2 separate regions of the Homo sapiens genome follow, and region 2 is linked to region 1. The links are contacts of gene promoters, found by promoter capture Hi-C in human tissues and cell types (Jung and others, 2019). All regions are on one chromosome and are shown on one strand. Each heading gives the region's core, a stretch centred on a gene start or on the middle of the fragment in contact. The rest is flanking DNA. Distances are from core to core; before and after follow the strand shown. Region 1 holds the start of CCDC116 (coiled-coil domain containing 116). Region 2 has its middle 15 kb from the start of TOP3B.

What was found. Contacts are between HindIII fragments. The study calls those that stand out against the background at their distance.
Region 2: a fragment that was not itself captured here is called in contact with the fragment with the promoter of CCDC116 in region 1 in 1 of the 25 tissues and cell types used here (dorsolateral prefrontal cortex).

Annotation. Positions count from the first base shown.
Region 1 is chr22:21,630,319-21,634,744 of GRCh38, reverse strand. CCDC116 (coiled-coil domain containing 116) reads right to left here and starts at 1,985. Exons shown (of 5, transcript NM_152612.3): 1 at 1,918-1,985; 2 at 1,492-1,625; 3 at 175-723; 4 at 1-60. The coding sequence starts at 1,563. RefSeq lists an enhancer at 1,754-2,253. The HindIII fragment of the contact is 5,816 bases long and covers 1-2,335 here.
Region 2 is chr22:21,996,168-22,000,350 of GRCh38, reverse strand. It overlaps the pseudogene PRAMENP. Among named protein-coding and RNA genes, the nearest start is that of TOP3B, 15 kb to the right of the region's middle. The HindIII fragment of the contact is 5,385 bases long and covers 1-4,091 here.

The DNA.
Region 1 (4,426 bases), core at 736-3,235:
GCTACCCAGCGAATCCCACAGCAGGGAGTCCCTCTGGGAGCAGGACTGACTGAGGCCTTTCTGCAGAAAGAGGGTGACTCTGTGAAGTGTTCAGGAGCAGCCAAGCCAGGGCTGACCCTAGCCCTGGGCTCTCCATGGGAGTCCACCCCACCCAGCCATGGCCCTGGCTCTCACCCCTTCCCTCTCCAGCTGTAGCAGCCGCTTGAGGTTCTTCTCCAGCAGGAGTTTGTCCCTCACAGGTGGCAATGAGCCTTGGGCACCTAGGTCACTGTCCCGGCTGTGGGAGCCCAGACAGCCGGCCATGAGGCTGCTATGGCAGTTGGACATGGAGCTGGAGCTGGATGGGTAGTTGTTGGGGTGTCCAGTGCAGAGGGTCGGCCGTACACGGTGCCGGTGTACGGTGCTGAGGCTGGGCCGGGCATGTGCCCGCCGTCCACCACTTGGCACCTCCACTGGGTCCTGCACCTCCACAAGCGGCACCCCAGCCTCCGTCTTCATGGCAGCCATGCGCTCAGTCGCCTTCTCCACCACTGTCTCCAGGCTGTCCAGGACCTGGCTCTCAGTTAGGAAATCCAGAAAGTGGCCAAAGGGCTGAGGGTGCCTCTTGTTTCGGCGTTGGCCCTGGAGTGCTGAGCTGCCACATGTGGATGGTGGGTGTGGCACACGGCCCGGCTTGCAGGCTGGCCGCATTTCTGGGACCAGTGGCTTCTTGGGCAGCTGCACCTGAGCAGACAGGTATGTCACAGGGGGCAGGGGTGCCCTACAGGTGAAGGGTTCCCTGGGGTAACACTAGGACCTGGGTGGGAGTGAGTAGTGGAAGGAGCTGCATTTTGGAGTCTGGAAGCCCTGGGTTTGGACCCTGGCTCTGCCACCTACAGCCTGATGCCAGTGTGCAAGATGGCCCCTCTTGAGGTCCAATGTCCTCATCTGCAAAGTGGAGGTCTATTCAGGGTCACCCCGAAGCTTTCCTAACACCTACATTTCACACACACAAGTCCTGGCTAAGGAGTCTGCAAGCCTGCTTCTGCCCTGACACGTGGCAGGATGAGCAATCATGAATCTCTCGGAGTCTCCCTCCAGCTCCTCATCTGTCCATGCAGCAGGCCATCCCTGTATCCATGGCAGGGCTGCAAACAACATCTGAGGTCTTGAGTGCAGACAACACCTGAGGTCTTGAGCCCTGTGCTACCCGGGCCTGTTTCTCCAACTTGAGCCATAGGCACCTAGTCAACTCCATGCTCCCACTCTAGGGTCCCAGTCCACCCAAGCACCTTCTGGGTCGCTGGAAGTCAGGAGGAAACAAGGAATGAAATTGAGTGTGACAGGGGCAAGCAGTGGGGGACATAGGAGAAGTCAAGGCAATAAGGACTTCACTAAGAGGCCCAGAGAAGTCAATAGACAATGAGAAATGGGGGTTGTGGTCTTGGGTGCCAGGGTTGGTGGGGAACATGTTGTGGCCTCAAGGGTCGGCGCCCTGCTGGGCACACTTACCCGTGCACTGCACATGGAGTGGCTGGCCTCGTCATCGGCCAGGTAACCCGAGTGGTGGCGGCACCTGGCCATGTGGTCACCTGGCAGGTGACCGGGCCTGCTGCCCACCTCTCTCTTCAGCTGCGCATTCCTCTCTGCGTGGGGTGGGGAGACAACCTGAGGGTCTCCAATAGGTCCACGCATCTGTGGCCCTGGAGTCTGCGGGTCCCTCGCTCCCCGCACCCCGCCTCCTTCATGCATCCAGCCCTTCCTCTGCTCCATGGCCCCCATGCGTCTGCAGGCAGGCAGTTTCCAGAGTCATCGGGGTGGAATCGCTGAGGACAATCCTGTCTCCGATCATCTTTGGATCTGCGTGTGCTCGACCCGCCCTCCTCCCAAACCCTGGGCAACCTGGCTTTCACCCCAGCCCAGAATCAACAGACTCACCAGAAACACCGCCTTGCTCCGCACAGGCCAGTACAGTCTGCGCCCTCACTGGAGCAGCTGCACAGTGCGAGGAAGTCGGCTGGCGGCCTCCACTTGCTTATTTGCATACCACATCCTCATTGGTTCTTACCGAGGAGCTCGTCCACTTCCCTCTCCGACACAATGGTTGGGGGCGGGGCCCACATTGGCCCCACCTCCAATTCTCTGGGCTCTGCCCTCCCACACTCGCCTGGGAGCCGCAGGCTGAGGATGCTGGTGCCCACGCTCCCCGCTGCCGGGAGGACCCCCCACCCACCACCGAAGCTGGGGCTAGGCTCTTTGATCTGCTCCTGCCCCGAGGGGAGCCTAAAAGCCAAAGCCACGTCTTCCACCGGTGGCACAAGCACCTTCCTCGTGTCCTCCTTGGTTGCTGCGCAGCCCTGGGCCTCCTGCTCCTGTTCGTTTCCAGGGGCCTCTGCCCTTCCCGCGGTGTGCACAGCCCCAGGTTCTGCCTTGAGACCTCTCCCCTCTGCAGTGGAAAGAGTGCCGGCTCTAAGTCACAGACCTAGCTTCAGTTCCTGGCTCTGCTCTTTCCTGCCAATGTGACTCAACCTCTCAGCATTAGTCCCACACTGTAAATGGGCTTGAGTGTTCTTCCAATATGGGAGTATGGGATTCAATAAAATCTCCCTACAGCACACCCAGTAACCCAGTGGAGCCTTGTGTATTCTTTAATTAATTAATTTATTTATTTGGAGACGGGAGTCTCGCTCAGTCGCCCAGGCTGGAGTGCAGTGGCGCAATCTCGGCTGACTGCAAGCTCCGCCTCCCGTGTTCACGCCATTCTCCTGCCTCAGCCTCCCGAGCAGCTGGGATTACAGGGGCCCGCCACCACGCCCGGCTAATTTTTTTGTAGTTTTAGTAGAGATGGGGTTTCACCGTGTTAGCTAGGATGGTCTCGATTCCCTGATCTTGTGATCCGCCTGCCTTGGCCTCCCAAAGTGCTGGGATTACAGACCTGAGCCACCGCGCCCAGCGGAGCCTTGTATATTCTTACCTCCTCTCCCTCCCTCCTTTTCCCCTTTGCTCAGTAATACCCCACCATGGTGTCACTTCTTCCAAAAACCTTTTACTGTGAATTCTGCCACGCCCTACGCAATTCACAGTAAACCCCATTCCAGACTCTACCATACCATGTTGCTACTTATTTTTCTATCAGATGGTGCTTCTTTGGGGCCAGAACAGAGGCAAGTCACCCTTAATCTCTAATACTTTCAGTGTCTGGCACCAAGTAGGTGCTCAATAAATGTCAGTCTCCTCCTTCCCACCTGCAGACCCTCGGGACCTCTGACCTTTCCAAGATCAGCTTCCAGTGGAGAACGGTGGTTGGTTGAGGTCTGACAATTCACCAGTCACTATAAACACATCAGTCCTTATGCCAAGAGCATGGCTGAAGGACTCTATGAGGCTTTCAATCCTCACATGCCTCACGAAATATTGTTCCTCTCAAGCTCTGCTCTGTCCTCTCAGCTCTGGCTACCCACTAGGTCAGGGACAGAGAGGACATAGCAGGCCTGGGTGCTGGCCCCGAGGTGTGAGGTTCAGTCTTAGCTCCACTACTCCTGGCAGGACCACACTTTCGCTCTCTGAACCCCAGTTTCCTCATCTGTGAAACAGGAATGACATTACCAATTTCATAGCCCGGACACAAATACCACACTTTCCATGGGAAAAATCAAGACTGTCACATTGCAATGGAAACTGTGGCTGCCAACCATAATGACTATTTATACAGTCATGGGTAAGGAAAGCTTTTCTGGACCAAAGAGAAAACAGTGAAGTTATGAATGTAAAAGCTGTAGCCTGGCAGAGAGCTCAAGATGGAAACTGGAGATAATGTTTTCTCAAATGAAGCCTTAGTGTATATGCTTTCTTTCATTTTCTTAGTGTCTAGAGCTCAAGAAAAAAAAAAAATCAACAAATCAAGAAAATGCCTGCTCTTAGAAAAATCTGCAAAAGATCAATAGGCAATTTGAAAAAGAATAAAAATAGCTAATAATATGAAAATTTTCATTCGCACTGCTAAGAAACTACTAGAATGTGATAACATTGATATAATCATCTTTATGTTCTCAAAACAACACACAAAAAAGTTGGGTTGGGGAGAAAGGGAGTTGGGTGTGTTTATTTGCTTAGAGAAAACACTGGAAGGACACAACCCAGAAAGTTTACAATGGCAATCTCTGGGAAGGGTAGGAGATTCTTTTTTTTTTTTTTTTTTTTTTTTGAGACGGAGTCTCGCTCTATCGCCCAGGCTAGAGTGCAGTGGTGCGATCTCGGCTCACCACAACCTCCGCCTCCCGGGTTCAAGCCACGCTCCTGCCTCAGCCTCCCGAGTAGCTGGGATTACAGGCGCGTGCCACCACTCCCGGCTAATTTTTGTATTTTTAATAGAGACGGGGTTTCCCCATGTTGGCCAGGCTGGCCTTGAACTCCTGACCTCGTGATCCACCCGCCTCGGCCTCCCAAA
Region 2 (4,183 bases), core at 150-2,649, 370 kb before region 1:
GCAGTGGCCGGATCTTGGCTCACTGCAACCTCTGCCTCCCGAGTTCAAGTGATTCTCCTGTCTCAGCCTCTCGAGTAGCTGGGATTACAGGCATGCACCACCATGCATGGCTAATTTTTTCTTTTTTGTATATTTAGTAGAGACAGGGTTTCACCATGTTGGCCAGACTGGTCTCAAACTGATCTCAGGTGATCCAGCCACCTCAGCCTCCCAAAGTGCTGGATTACAGGCATGAGCCACCACGCCCAGCCAGTTTGAATTAATTTCACATTAGTATCTCTTCAATAGTCTTCTCTTAGTTTTGTTTTTGTTATTTCTTCTAGATTAAAGTCATAATTAGACATTATTTAAAATGTCCTAACTATAACAATATTTATATCTTTTCAATATTTGCTCTCCTCATCCATTTACATCTTTCCATTTATTAATTTTACTCCATTACATTAATTTTTTAATTCTTAATACTGTTTTCACATTTATTGTCATCCCTAGATGACAGAAAAAAGTGAGTGAATAGTTTATTTCATACATCTACATTACTTCTGCCATTATACATTTACAGCTCAGTTCTTGCTGGAAATACTGGGCACTCTTGTGCAGTCACATCAGCAGAAATACTCCTATTAATTATATTAACTGTTTCCTATTTTATCCTTTTTAGCTTCCAATTGTTAAAAGATAATTTTCAGAAAAGTAGAATTGTGACTTTATACAGATATAGAAATGAACATGTATTAAAGAATTTATTTTACTCATATAATATGAAGTACCAGGCAGATGTTAAAGAAGAGTTAAGACAGCACATATTTATATGACATGAAGGGATGTTGAGATGAATTTCAGATGGAGACAAAATTTTCCACAGGTAGAAGTTAGGAGAAAATCATTACCAGACCAGACAGAATTTATATGTCTATCAGTTACCTACAACTTATAAAGTTAAAAAATAGCTCAAAGATAATGAACAGGACTCAAATCTGATAACCCAGAAGGGTACATTACAGAGGATCCATTGCTTTCCACTGTAGAGGAGAAAAAATCATAGCTTTTCCTCACCCATCTCAAGGGTCTTTGCTGATACCCCTATTTTAAAAAGGCAGATTAACAAGAGGACACCATAACAAATGTATCAAAGTTTTGCGTGATACAGGAACCTTCAGAAATGAAGACTCAAAGACCCAGGGAGAACTGTAGTTCTTAATTTAAAATTTTTTTTAGAGACTGGGATCTTACTGTATTGCCCAGACCGGCCTTGAATTCCTGGGCTCAAGCAGTCCTCCTGCCTCAGCCTCCCAAGTACCTGGGATTACAGGTGCATGTCACTGCACCTGACTATCTGTATATATGTATGCTTAGGTTTGATGAAGGATGGACAGTCATGTACAAGTATGATTGGACAAAAAACCTGTGGTCTAATGGTAATAAGCTGGGGAGAACTTAGCAAGGCCTGTTCATTCAGATTCTTCTTGGCCCCTCTGTGTAGCATTTCTTTCCTCCTGGTAATAGGACAGGACACCTGTCACATGGGGTGGAGGTCTCACTGCCTACTTTCAGGAAAGGAAGGTCAAAGAATTCCTTTATGACTAGCTCTCACACAGAAAGGCAGGGAAAAGTCAGAGAGACACCTTCAAAGTTCCGTATTTCGGGGTGACATTCTGAGCCGCAACACCATTTTTTCCTACACTATGTACATAATCGTTTGCCTCTTTTTATTGCCCTAGACAACCCTATTGTTATGTGTCTTACTGCACCGGCTACAACTTTCCCAAACAATGTTGATAGTGTGCATGCTTGTTTCTAATTCAGACATCAACAAAAATACCCATGATACAGCTCCTCTCTTTCCCTCTCTCTTTCTTTCTCTGTCTCTCTCTGTCTCTCTGTCTTTCTCTCTCTCTCTCTCTCTCACACACACACACACACACATATATTATATATATATGTTTATATATAGAGAGAGAAAAAAATTTTGATTAGTCATGGAGAAATAATGATAAGACAAAAGAAGTATGAGAGTATGAGCCAAGTGTAATAAAATGGCGGAACAGCGGGCCTGTGTGTTCAGATCCCTCTTGGCAAGCGTTCATCTTTGGAAATAAGGATATGCCTTTCCTTCCTGTATAGGGGGAGTACCTCTCACAGGAGGGTCTTATACCTACTACAGGGGAAGGTCAGAAAATCCTGCCTGCCCATGCCATTTCTCAAATTCCTTCAGCTTAAAATATTCAGTATGCCAAGTTGCTGTATTTTGGGAAGGCACATCCTAAACTCCATCAAAGTCCTGCTAGAAGCAGATACCAAGATGGAAAAACATCCAAGGATTTTTACTAGGGGAGCCCCCTATGAGGGGCATTGAGGGGTGAGCGGGAAGGCATGGAGACCCCACTGACCTACATCGCTGTGTTTGGTGAAGCAGAACTGGAGGGAAGGTTGGGTGGAAACGTGTGCACTCAGGAAGATTTAGCAAAGCTATCAGGGAGTCCTGAAGCCAAAGGTGGTTGTCAGAGGAGTGATGTCTCCCAGGAACTAGTCTGTCACATTGTCTCCCAGGAACTGATCTGTCCCCAGTCATTGTTGGTGAGCAGCATGTGGTGGTGTGACTTGGGCCTTAAGGCTGCCAGGGATTCCTAAGGGCAGTGGGTGGGGCCCTTGGTTCAGGTGCATTTCCTGAGTTGGAGGTGCAGGGCACACTCTCATGGTGGCCACACCATCTTCATCTTGTTTCTAACTTTAAAAGCAATGTTGGCTGGGCGCGGTGGCTCACGCCTGTAATCCCAACACTTTGGGAGGCCAAGGCGGGTGGATCACGAGGTCAGGAGATCAAGACCATCCTGGCTAACATGGTGAAACCCCGTCTCTACTAAAAATACAAAAAATTAGCCGGGCGTGGTGGCGGGCACCTGTAGTCCCAGCTACTCGGGAGACTGAGGCAGGAGAATGGCGTGAACCCAGGAGGTGGAGCTTGCAGTAAGCCAAGATTGTGCCACTGCACTCCAGCCTAGGCGACAGGCAAGACTCCGTCTCAAAAAAAAAAAGCAATGTTTATAAAACACCACTACTAAATATCAGGTTCAGAACCTTGCCTTCTATTTCTTCTTTGATTTTCTCAAATGCATTGACATTAATAATTAATAAACCTAACATTAACCATTCTTGCTCAATCGTTCTTGATCACTATTTGTAAGAGATATTTATAGATTTAGTGTGCCAGGCGTTTGATTTGATTTGCTAGTATTTAAGCCTTTGCTAGATAGCTTCCTATGTATGATTGGCCAATAATTGTCCTTTCTTATACTGTCCTCTGTCCTTGCCCAGTTTGTTGCCAAGGCCGTAGTGGCCTCATACAAATAGATTTCATAGCTTGTGAGACTGTGAATGAATGTTTCTTGTCTCTGACTAGCATAGATCCTAGAACTCTGCCGTCCAGAAGTGTAGCATCTGGCTACATGAAGCTATTTAGATTGCAATTAATTAGAATTTAATTTAATTTAAAATTCAGTCCTTTAGTCATGCTAGCCACATTTCAAGTACTCAGTAGCCACATGTGGCTTGGGGCTCCCACATTAGACAGTGCAGGTCTAGAACATCCCCCTCCTTGCACAAAGCCCTGCTCTGTGGTGGACCGTGGAAAGTGATGGGATGGGGCTACACTCCCGCATTTCACTGGGCAGAAAAAAAAGAGGAATTTGGGCAGTTGAAAGAATCCATAACTAACCTGAACCTGATGCTCTGTGAGAGCATAGAAAAAAAACCTCCATTCCACATTACCCTCAACTCCATCAGTGGGATTGTGGTAAGCGTGTATTGTGCAAACTTGCTCTTGAAATGCATTTAAAATATATCCTGCTTGTCTGGTGTATGTCAGGAACTATGTTTATCACTCAGACTACAGCAGTAATGAAAGCAGACACAGCCCCTTTTTTCATGGAGCTTATAATTTAGCAGAGGGGAGACAGATAATATACGACTGTGTGCATTTATGTGCACACGCATGTGTGTGTCTGCGTATGTGTATGTGTATAAGAGAGACAGAAACAGAAAACTGGTGATATAAGAAGTGCTGTAAATCAGATTAGGAAAGATAAAGCTGTAATTAAGGGATGGGAGTGCTATTCTACTTGGGTGGTCAGGGAAGGCCTCTCATGTGAAATTTTAACAGAAACCTGAATGAAGTAAGGGGGCC